Linked DNA regions of Homo sapiens: region 1 is linked to region 2. The links are contacts of gene promoters, found by promoter capture Hi-C in human tissues and cell types (Jung and others, 2019). All regions are on one chromosome and are shown on one strand. The core of a region is centred on a gene start or on the middle of the fragment in contact, and the rest is flanking DNA. Distances in the headings are between cores, read along the strand shown. Region 1 overlaps OLA1 (Obg like ATPase 1). Region 2 holds the start of SP9 (Sp9 transcription factor).

The links. The method cuts DNA at HindIII sites, captures the fragments that hold promoters and counts their contacts. A contact is called where the count stands out against the background at its distance.
Region 1: a contact is called between a fragment that was not itself captured here and the fragment with the promoter of SP9 in region 2, in 1 of the 25 tissues and cell types used here (thymus).

The regions. Positions count from the first base shown.
Region 1 is chr2:174,078,433-174,083,979 of GRCh38, forward strand. It overlaps OLA1 (Obg like ATPase 1), which reads right to left. Exons shown (of 11, transcript NM_013341.5): 8 at 3,492-3,632; 9 at 2,720-2,816; 10 at 536-658. Among named protein-coding and RNA genes, the nearest start is that of LINC01960, 56 kb to the left of the region's middle. RefSeq lists an enhancer at 5,343-5,547. The HindIII fragment of the contact is 3,838 bases long and covers 1,105-4,942 here.
Region 2 is chr2:174,333,033-174,339,063 of GRCh38, forward strand. SP9 (Sp9 transcription factor) reads left to right here and starts at 1,922. Exons shown (of 2, transcript NM_001145250.2): 1 at 1,922-2,081; 2 at 3,075-5,468. The coding sequence starts at 2,061. The coding sequence ends at 4,508. It overlaps LOC102724194 (a long non-coding RNA gene), which reads right to left and starts at 1,944. Exons shown (of 3, transcript XR_427194.5): 1 at 708-1,944; 2 at 525-593; 3 at 1-28. RefSeq lists a silencer at 3,854-4,063 and an enhancer at 5,503-6,031. The HindIII fragment of the contact is 14,947 bases long and covers 1-6,031 here.

The sequences.
Region 1 (5,547 bases), core at 1,774-4,273, 250 kb before region 2:
AAACCAAATTATCCTTATTAGCTAAAATAAAGCACAATTTTGGACCTGCCCTCTAGTGTTGAGAAAGCAAATCAAATCCCCAAGTATCTTTAAACAACAAACAAGTAAAACCATGAAGTTTTAGAAAGAACAGCTTTTATTTAACTAACTTTCTATCTCTATTCTTGAAGTAATTATAAGCATATATATTATACTTCAGCTATTCAAATGTAATAAGTACAATTTTTCATTGGCCATGAGTGAACAAATTCTTCGAAATTATTTACAATTACTTAAACCTAATTTATTTTATTTTCAATTATAGAAAAAAACCTCCACAAAACTACTGACAATTCACACATTTTTAAAATGATCTAAAAGTATGTAAACATCTATAGCTCTTAAGTCAGTTGATAGTAACACTAAACGCTGATCATCTTATTACTTTATTTTAGACTACACTCAGTTTAAAAGATAATTATCATTCATTTTTATCATGACTAACTTCGCATCAGTGGAAACATTGTGAAATACAAAAATAAAAACAATTCTTTACCTTGACTGCATTTTCAGAACCTTCCTCTTTAAAATCTTCGTATTTCATTACTTCAGCCATAATGAATCCCTTTTCAAAATCTGTGTGAATCTTTCCTGCAGCCTGAGGAGCCTTAGTCCCTTTCTTTGAAAAGAAAGACCAGAGAAAACTAATTGCATTTAAGATGACTGATTGTAAGCACAGAGTTTCTTTTCTCTGATCTGCAGTTGGGCTCAACTAGAACTTAGTTTAATATCTGTTAAGATGTCAGGTATATAATTAGTACATTTTCAACACTGGGTAGTATCTGTGCAGCAGATTTAGCATAGATCAGTAGATATTAAAGAAGCGTGGCTTTGTTTTTCCTAACAGTCATCCACTGTTTTATTGATTTAGAAGCAGTGGTCTGGTTTTGGTGTAGGTTTCATTTCGATTTTCTATTCTTCACAGTGGAAAAAAATAGATTTTTAAGTAACTTTCAAGCTGAATTATCAAAGGTTTTAAAAAGATAAAAAGCTCTCAAAATTTCAGCTCATCTAAAGAACATATAAAAATCAATATACAAAGGGACATTTTAAAGGCATTTCCAACAAATCATATTGGAAATCTACATTCAGCAAATAATTGTGAAACTCTCAAAAAATTTCGATAATAAAATTTTTGAACATTTTGCATAATATTCCCTGCCTCTAACCATCATGAAGGAAATTCAAGTTGATATAGGGAGAGAAATGTCTTATAATTAACCCATATGTTATATTACAAGGATATATATTCCACACACACATAACCATGGAAAGAAATTTGAGAAATAACGGTGACCTAAAGGCTGCTTAATAAAGCATGTTAAAGTGATAAGGAGTCTGACACTAGAAAGCACAGTTTTTACAATAAAAGATGTATTGGGTTAATATAGCTACTCACTGATGCTTACCTGACTAAATATCTTAGCACATTAAATCATGGATACTTACAATCAGTCTTAAGATAAACCAGCTTTCACATTTTCAAGCCCAGAACATGCTATCTTTCCTACCTCCACATACTTAAGTTAGAAAGTTTTAAGGCTTTAAAATACATCTTTAAAATATATAGTAAAAATAAATCCTGGCAATTTGTTTACCAACTTGGATTTGCTTTGACATTATTTTTAAAATCTATATAAAAGGACCTTGGTTAGAAGTCAATCAAACATTTTTTTACAAAGGGGAGAGGAGATAAAAGAAAAGTAAATCTCACATTCACACAAGGCATTTAACATTATGTTAACTGCCTCCATGTTTCTATCCATATTAAATCAAAATACATGTAACAATAAATTACAGTAGTCACTGAAAACAGGAATCAAAGCACCACTAAAATTTATCGTGTAGCATATATTTAAAAAGCATAATAAAAGACTGAATAAGACACTATTTCTAAAAGTTCTGGTATTATTTTTATATTCTGTAACATACTATTTAGGATCACATATATTTCAAAATATTTTTCAATAGTAACTACTATGTTACAATATATTTAAATTTAAAAGCAAACCATTACAGTTCAGTTTCTATTGTCCTCTGGGAATAAATTAGTCATTCTCTCTGTTGTATTCAGTATACATCAATTTTTAAAATACATATCACATTTTTAAAGAAGTAAGACTGAACATATAACACTGAAAATAAACATTACTTCTATGAATTCAAATTTAAAAAGGCATGAATTATTACACGTTGAGTTTAGCTTTTTGAGCCCAACTGTGTATCTATGAAGAGCATAATGATGTCATATTGCTTTTATTGCTGAAAATGTAATCCGAGCAAAGCAAAGGAGGAAAGAACCACCCGCAACCCAAACAAACTTAGCGAATACAAAATGAAAAGCAACATCAATTTCACTGCAGACAAACCCAGTCACACAGATTAAGCAAGCACAATACTGGTGCGTCTTATCTCTGACCACAGGAGGAGGGTAGACAGATTCTACAGGATGAAGAAATTCAGACTATGTAATAGGCAGAATCAATTGTTACCTGCCTCAATCAATGCCGCTCCACTTTCACTGTTCAGCAGCTCACAAATAATTAAAGTTATCCTGGACAAAAACCTCATCTGTAATGACTAGCTAACCGCCACCATGACAAACTTCAAAGTCAGTGATATCAATCTGAATTCAATAGTGTGGAACTGGATATAGCTGATGAATAAGTATGAATCTTACCCTGATGGTCCATGCACGCACTTCATCTGGGCCTGCAGTGAAAAAGTATTCTAGTTGGAGTGCTGCAAACCCAGCCTTAATGATCTTTGGCAAAGCACTGAAATCAAATGAAACAAATTCACCCAACACATAAGTTGATTGTGCCAGAAATTGGTATAGAGCTAAAATTATTCATTTCAAGCAGAAAATGTTAAAGATAGTAGTAAATGACCATTCATCTTTCAGAATACACTGGAAGGGTTCAGAAAGCAAGTAACTGTTTTTAAAAACCTCTCTTCTAAAATTGGTTTTAATTGTATTAGCCTGAAGATATTATTTTGAATTGTTTGCTATTTAAAAAAAGAAAAATTATGACTATTTTCATCCAAAATTAATTATTTCCAGGACCTGGCCATAAAAGCAAAATTATTTGATTGAAATCTGATATTTAAACAATATATTACTGTTACTCAGAAAAAATTATGGCAACTGATTCACCCTTTCCCCTCCCCCACTGAACATGACGAAAGAGTTTTGGCGATCATTCCTTCTCAAAAATATACATAACTAATACCTATGTTATAATTAAAACACTGTACGGAGATGACAGATGACAGTTAAAAACTTAATTTAAAATAAATCTTTTCACTCTGTCTCATGGTAAAGAAAGGAGAAGATTCCCTCTTTATAATGGTAATTACTCTGTCATTTATTATTCTATCAGCGCAAGCAATTAAATTACTGCAAGGAAATAGTTGATAATAAAGTGTAGGGAAAATGAATGCTAATTAACCTTTGTGTCATGTTCGCTTCCAGATACTTCTGTCTCTCCTCAGCACTCAATTCTTGCAACTTGAGTTCCAAGGCCCCACTAAAAGGAATGACCAAAGCACCTGGGTCATACTTGTCCACCCACTCTTTAATTTTTATCAACCTGTAGACAAAAAAGGGCACAACATTATCTTGTAGTGCATGCATGACTGTACCACATTCATTATTATCAAGTAGCACATACATATTCATAAGAATTGCACGGTTTTATGATGCCATCTTTTTGTATATAGCTTTCCAAGGTCAAGGCATTAACAGGCAGCAACTGCTTCAGGTATACGCCATAGTATTTTACTGTAACCTAGTTTTACTTTAGCACATTATCTATGGAAACTATTATACAAATATTTAAAAACTTTTTTTAGTTACACTAAAATTGTTCAGCATTAACACCTGTACCCTTGAATAAAGCTTCCATTTTATAATTTTTTGTTTTCCTTACTTTACAAAGTAAATTTTTAAAAGAAGACATAAAGTTCTGTTTGTACAGGAATCATACCTAAAAATACCAGCTAATTCTGAAGAGCCCTTCACAAATAAATAATTTGTTCCAGCCAGATATCTATATGCCTGGTTTAGTTCCTTCATGGACTAACAGAACTCACAGTGGTCACTAGTTTTGAGGAAGCTTTTTCCTAGCCAGAACAAGCACGTGCAGAAATACAGATTTACAAATATGGTTGATCACGTACGCAGCTGTATGAACCTGACTTTTGTGAGAACAAGAATAATAGAACTGCAGAGGAAAGAAATTCCTTTAATCACAAAGGATTTGGAAAGCCAAATCAGTTAGGAAACTGATCCTAGTTGTTACCTGAAAAGACATTATTGAGTCATTTTTTTTCCTTCCAAAGCATGGAGTATTTGGCAAAGTAGTAATTAGAACATAAATGAAATAAGTGTAGTGAATATATTAATTAGGTTCAGAGCCTAACACTTTCCTAGCTTTTTATTACTGGGCAGGTTACTGAACGTTTCTAAGCCTCAGTTTCCTCACTTGTAAAAATAGAGATAATAATAGTACATATTATATTGTAAGGAACCTAGAAAAGCCTGCAAATAGTAAAGAATTAACAGCAGTTACTATTATTAATTTTCCTTCTCAGATAATCATAGCATACATTCCTATGAATCTGGAACTGAGTTTAGTGTGAGACTATACATTCCATTAAAATTTTTATAAAATTATGCTATAGGCTTACATAATTCCACTAGACTGCTATATTTAGACAAAGGTTTTAATAGTTATTATGGCAAAATGCTGTGGCAGAAGTCCTTTAAATAATTAATGTAAATGCCACTTTAGGGGAAAAGAAAAACAAGAACTAAGTCACAAATCCATCAATGGCAGGGGAGCAGAGTTATTAGAAAATTAAGACTATGGCCCATTGAGCAGGATTTAGGATGGGAGAAAGGAATGAAAAACAATCACACAAGAGTTTGTATATGTTTGTTATACAAAGGTAACTACTTATTTAGTATGTTATTTGTGGTTTTCAATCTTCATAATAGTATTTTTTCTTTTGTTCATATCCCAAAAAATGGACCAAGTCCTATGATTTATGTTGCCTTTAACATAAAATTCAAACTAGATGTTTTCTTAACCAAAATTAAGAAGGACAGGTTAAAAAAAAGGTGGGGGGACTGAAATTGGTGCTTCTGTCTCCGTTAACATTATGGTATTCTAAGTTACTTCACAGACTTACACTATTCAAACAAAAGTCTATATTCAAATGTTATCATCAATGGTTTAGTAACTTACTTTCATTATACAAGTTAAAATCAAATATGTAATTTTAAAAAAGCAGATCACATACCAAATAGATTCAATGAAAGTGAAATAAAACAAGCCCATGTAAAAGGAGAATATAAAAATATCATACACACTTTATTTCATAAATATGGTCAACAGAACTAATAAAACTAGAACTGTTATGAAACAACAAGATAAGAAATAATTACTTTAGCTAACACATCAATTCAGAATAACAATAGTCCTACCCTGTCATTTTAACAGC
Region 2 (6,031 bases), core at 672-3,171:
GTCATAATTTCCTTGGTGCTTTCGCCACCTTAAACAAAAAAGAGAAAAAAATAAAATAAAAAAAACCCATTCTGAGCCAAAGTATTTTAAGATGAATCCAAGAAAGCGACCCACATAGCCCTCCCCACCCACGGAGTGCGCCAAGACGCACCCAGGCTCCATCACAGGGCCGAGAGCAGCGCCACTCTGGTCGTACTTTTGGGTCAAGAGATCTTGCAAAAGAGGAGAGAAAACACGGGAGGCACAGTTCCACATCCTTGTCACTTGCACCGGCTCCGCGACAACTCGTCGTTTGCACCCGAGGGTTTGGGGTTGGTAGTTTAATTTTTTTTTTTTCCTAAGAAGCAGGGTGTGGGTTTAGTGGGGAGTGTGCTATATTAAAACCAGTGCCCAGGTCTGCCCGAGGGCGCTGGTATTTCTGGTTCAAAAACAGCTTCTGGCTACCCTGGAGAAGAAAGAGAAAGCGGGGCCCAGAAAGAGAAAAACAAGCAGGTCAGCGGTTGCTGGGGGACTCGAAGACGCACCCTGGTCTGCTTGAGGACGCCTCTTTTCACACTGACAAGGTCCAGGGAGGACTTCAGGATGCTTCCAGCCTGCAAAATGTGGAAGCGCCCACGTGTGGCCTGGTCCTCCGCCCTCCCGGGTGAAAGTCCTGGAGAGATTTCTCGGGCGCGTCCGTGAAAGCAGGGCACTAATGGGGAGCCTACCTCTTAAAACAGCGCACTTGCCCTACGGACGAGCCTCTAGGCCCTGGTGGTCTGGAATGGGAGTGGGTTGGAGCTGGGACAAGAAAACTCCACTCCAGGATGAAACGCGACATGCAAATCTTCACCGGGTTAAACAAACAGCCGAGCAAGCTGCAGCTTCAGCGGAGGTGGAGGTGGGGGCGGACGCCGCTCGCGCCGGTCTCTGTTTCCAAAGTTGTTACAGTGAGAAAATAAGCGGCTTCGTGCAGCGTGTTGTATGGGCTGATGCCTCCCACCCCCATGCCAGCCCACAGCAAAACCCGGCAGATAATCAGCACATCCCACTGTTTAGTCATATTTGACAACTGGGTTAACCTGGTATCTAAGCGCTGGCGAAACCGTACAAAGGGTGCCCTCAATTACCACCAGAAGCCTCTAGCGTGAGTGGCACTTGTATTACCCCCCGGGTCAGAGGCCAGAGCGACAATTAGGAAGTCACTTACACCGCTGGGGGGAAATGGCGGGATGCAGCAGGCTCCAGGCCCTCCCAACAAATCTGTGGATGTAGATCTGTACAGAGAGGCCTATTTCGCTCCTCTCGGAGGAGCTGTCCCTTCGCGCCCCCTCCCCAGTATAACTGTGAGAGTGAAATTGAATCTAGTGGAATAAGGAATTGGGTAGAAGACACACGAAAATGATAAAAATCACAAGCAAGAATGATAGATACAAGCTGAAGTTGTGTTCTGTAGGCAAAAGCCTGGACACACAAAGTGAGGGCTCACATTTCCGTCTCCACTTGGGCCCTGCTGGTGCGGGCTGTGTCTGGGTGTCTCCTCCCCTCCTGCCTCCTTTCCTACAAGTGGGGAGTCGAGTAGGACTGTCAGCCCTAACTTGCAACATCTCGGGGTGGTTTGTGTGTGGGGGGGTGCTTGTGGCTCGGTTTCATTGGTACTTAAACCTGGCTTGGTGCGTGAGTGTAAATTTTTAATTGCACTGTAATTTCTTCAGTCCCCAGCCCGCCCTCGCCCCCCCCCCGCAAGTATCCCCCACTACTCCCCCCCACCCCCGCGGCCCTAGCTAGCTGACTTGACTGGCACGCGCCGGGAGCCCGGGCTCGGGCCCCTCGGAGCGTCTGATTGGCTGCGGGGCAGCTCCGGTCTGCTCTGCCTGCGCCCTCATTGGGCGAGAGGCGCAGCCAGCGGCACTTCAAAGCGGGTGCTCCTCGCACTTAGGCTGAGTTTAGCCGGCGGGAGCCTGGAGTCCGCTCGGCACGAGCGCGGGGACGCGGGAGCCGCGCGGGACCCAAGCAGTTTTTCCGAGCAGCCGCCAGGCTCAGCCCCGCTCCCAGCCTCGCTGCGCAGCCAGAGACCTGCTATGGCCACGTCTATACTCGGGGTAAGTCGCAAGCGCGGCAACGCATTTGCTTGTTTTAACCGGAGTAATTTTTCGTTATGGCTTCTGGGGTCTGCGGCTCCGGAGAAACTGTTGCTGCTAGACTGCAGCTTCAGCTTCTATTAGCACTTTCCACATTTCTGGGACTGATTTTTCCCCAAGTTTTTGGAACCCAGAAAGATGCCTTTGCAAGAAAAGGCCTTCTTAATCAAGTCCTTTTTCATTTGGTTTCAAAAAAAAGCTAGAGGTTTCTTTTCTTCCCCTCGTGATTTATACCCCATCCCCCGCATTGCTTTGGGGATTTTGTTGCAATTATGCGACAATGGTGTTTCCAGAAAACAGTCTTAATCGTTTTGCAGTCCATCTAGTCACGCTAATAAACATTTACATTTCCGCGGCTCCCCAATTCGCCCATGACTTTGAAATCTGTCTCTGGCCGCTTATCCTCGGATTATTGTTTTCATAATCGCTGTTTTTGTGTGTATGTAAACTTTAAAACCAAACGTTTTCTATTAAAAAAGAAAAGTCAAGTCGTAGCCACCCTGGGAGAGCTGCAAGTTTCGCCCGTCCCTGGCAGCTGTTTCGGCCGCCTCCGCCCTCACCCGGTGTTTGTTGTCTCTGGTCTCTGTGTTTACCTTCGCGCTTCACCCCGAAGGGCGACTTGGGGTCTTCTGGGAGATGAGCCGGTTTACGGCGACAACCCAAGTCCGGTTGTAGGCAGGGTTGCAGCGGGGAACACGGAGGCATCTTTGATTTATAGCCTCAGCGAAGTGCAACTTTCCGGCGCCTGGACCTTCGCCCGGGTGATCGCCCCTGCTCCGCGCCCGGTGCGGCGACTCCTCCGCGGGCGCGTGGGGAGGAGGCGCGAGGCGGGGAGCCAGGACCCCCCGGGAGCAGCCGCAGGGGACGAGGCTGCTCACGGGTGCACTTTGTTTCTTCCCCCACTTCCTCTTGCCCTCCTCCTTCTTGCTCCCTCCCCCATCCCACCCACTCTAGGAAGAGCCGCGCTTCGGAACGACCCCGTTGGCCATGCTGGCGGCGACCTGCAACAAGATCGGCAACACGAGCCCGCTGACGACGCTGCCAGAGTCGAGCGCCTTCGCCAAAGGCGGCTTTCACCCCTGGAAGCGCTCCTCGTCCAGCTGCAACCTCGGCTCCAGCCTCTCGGGCTTCGCGGTGGCCACCGGGGGCCGTGGCTCGGGCGGCCTGGCGGGCGGCTCGGGCGCCGCCAACAGCGCCTTCTGCCTGGCCTCCACGTCGCCCACGTCGTCCGCCTTCAGCAGCGACTACGGCGGCCTCTTCTCCAACTCGGCGGCTGCCGCGGCGGCAGCGGCCGGGGTGTCCCCGCAGGAGGCGGGTGGCCAGTCGGCCTTCATTTCCAAGGTGCACACGACGGCAGCCGACGGGCTGTACCCGCGCGTGGGCATGGCGCACCCGTACGAGTCCTGGTACAAGTCGGGCTTCCATTCGACGCTGGCGGCCGGCGAGGTGACCAACGGCGCGGCGTCGTCGTGGTGGGACGTGCACAGCAGCCCGGGCTCGTGGCTGGAAGTGCAGAACCCCGCTGGGGGGCTCCAGAGCTCGCTGCACTCGGGCGCCCCCCAGGCCTCGCTGCACTCGCAGCTGGGCACCTACAACCCCGACTTCAGCTCGCTCACGCACTCCGCCTTCAGCTCCACGGGCCTCGGCTCCTCCGCCGCCGCCGCCTCCCACCTGCTCTCCACCAGCCAGCACCTGCTGGCCCAGGACGGCTTCAAGCCGGTGTTGCCCTCCTATTCGGACTCCAGCGCCGCCGTGGCAGCCGCCGCCGCCAGCGCCATGATATCGGGCGCCGCGGCTGCCGCCGCCGGGGGGAGCTCGGCACGCTCTGCCCGCCGCTACTCGGGCCGCGCCACCTGCGACTGCCCCAACTGCCAGGAGGCGGAGCGGCTGGGCCCGGCCGGGGCGAGCCTGCGGCGCAAGGGCCTGCACAGCTGCCACATTCCGGGCTGCGGCAAGGTGTACGGGAAGACGTCGCACCTGAAGGCGCACCTGCGCTGGCACACGGGCGAGCGGCCCTTCGTGTGCAACTGGCTCTTCTGCGGCAAGCGCTTCACGCGCTCGGACGAGCTGCAGCGGCATCTGCGGACTCACACGGGCGAGAAGCGCTTCGCCTGTCCGGTGTGCAACAAGCGCTTCATGCGCAGCGACCACCTGAGCAAACACATTAAGACGCACAACGGGGGCGGCGGGGGCAAAAAGGGCAGCGACAGTGACACGGACGCCAGCAACCTGGAGACGCCCCGTTCCGAATCCCCCGACCTCATCCTGCATGACTCCGGCGTCAGTGCCGCCCGGGCGGCGGCAGCGGCGGCGGCGGCAGCGGCGGCGGCGGCGGCGGCGGCCTCCGCGGGAGGCAAGGAAGCAGCGTCTGGCCCCAACGACTCTTAGAGGCCGGGCGAGAGGCGCGAGCACACAAGCGAGTAGAGACACCGAGAACGAACGAGAGGTTCGGAGGGCGAGCGAGCGGGAGGCGGGAGGGCAGGGGCTTCAGTGACGCCCCCAGGGCCCGGGCTGGGCGCGAGGTGGAGCCGCTCAGGGCTCCCGGGCTGCGGTTCGCCCGCTGTGCGAGGAGCTCCCCTCTGCCTTCCGCGCCCGGATAAGAATCGAACGCGTGGTCCGGAAACAAAAGCGAACCATCCTCCGACACAAACACTTTAAAAACTGTACTCCCAGACGTACACATACACCGGAGACCTACAACCACAAGCACGCACACTCGCGCGCGCACACACATACCACTCGCCCAAACTTCTCGAGCGAAGAGCAATACATAGAAAGGCTCCCTCTTTGCCCACTCTCCACCTCCCTCCAACACCCGTCTCTTTCCTTTTCTCAAAAACAAGCCACCACCCAGCAAAGGACTGTCAGAACATTTGAAAACAAACGGGACCGATAAAAACACCCTTTGTTTGGATTATATTATATATAAAATGCTCCAAGTCCTGCCTGATATCTACTTACAATGAGACTTTTTTCCTAAAAAAGGAAGCATCAAAAGGCTTAAGGTGAGAAATTAAACTGGAAGTCTAGCGACAGTTTCTCTGTATTTCATAACATCTGTATAAATAGGGTTCAAAAGATTGTGTTCTCTTTTATTTTCTTGTAAATGTTCATTCGAATAGAGTTTTTTTGGGTGAATCCCTGAAATTCAGGGAGTTTTTTTTAATTTTCTGATGCACTTTGTGAAAGTCAGTATATATGTAAAAGATATTTAAAATGTTGAGTTATCATTTCACTCACAAACACGTAAGTTAAGGTCATCTAAAGAAATTAAATGCGTTTATCTGTATCAAGAAAATCTTGACATCATATTTTCATTTTGGTATTATTAAAGGACTCTGAACAATACATTTCCTTTTTTAAAAATCCTGTTTCCCCCTCAATAACCTTTTCGTGGGTCGATTTTTTTTTCGGTTGGGAAAAAATTCCCTTAATGTTAGTTGTAGGTAATGTAAAGTTTATGTGGGTTATAAAAGCCATACTACATATACGTTTTTGAGAAGTCAAAATTATTTATTTGTATATCAACAACATAAATTAAATTGGGTTGTAAGGACGTGTAGTTGTATTACTTAATGTGAAGGCTCTCAAAAGGTGACATTTTAAAACTCTGGAGCGCCTAAAAAATGCAAAGGTCCTTGGCAGCTTTAATTGGGGAGGTGCCTAAACCTCTGGGAGGGGTCAGAGAAAACTCTGGTGGGTTTGTTTGTTTTTAAAAAGTGATTTAAAAACAACTGTGAAAGGAAAACGCTTAAAAAAAAAGAAGTCTTTTAGCTCCCAAGGCCCTGTATGTTGGAAGGCAACTCAAGGGAATAAATCGCTAGAGTCAATACCCCGGAAAAGACATTTCATGCCTAAATGAAAATCTTGTTAAATGTTATTAATTTTGACTTAGAGCACACAGCAGCCCC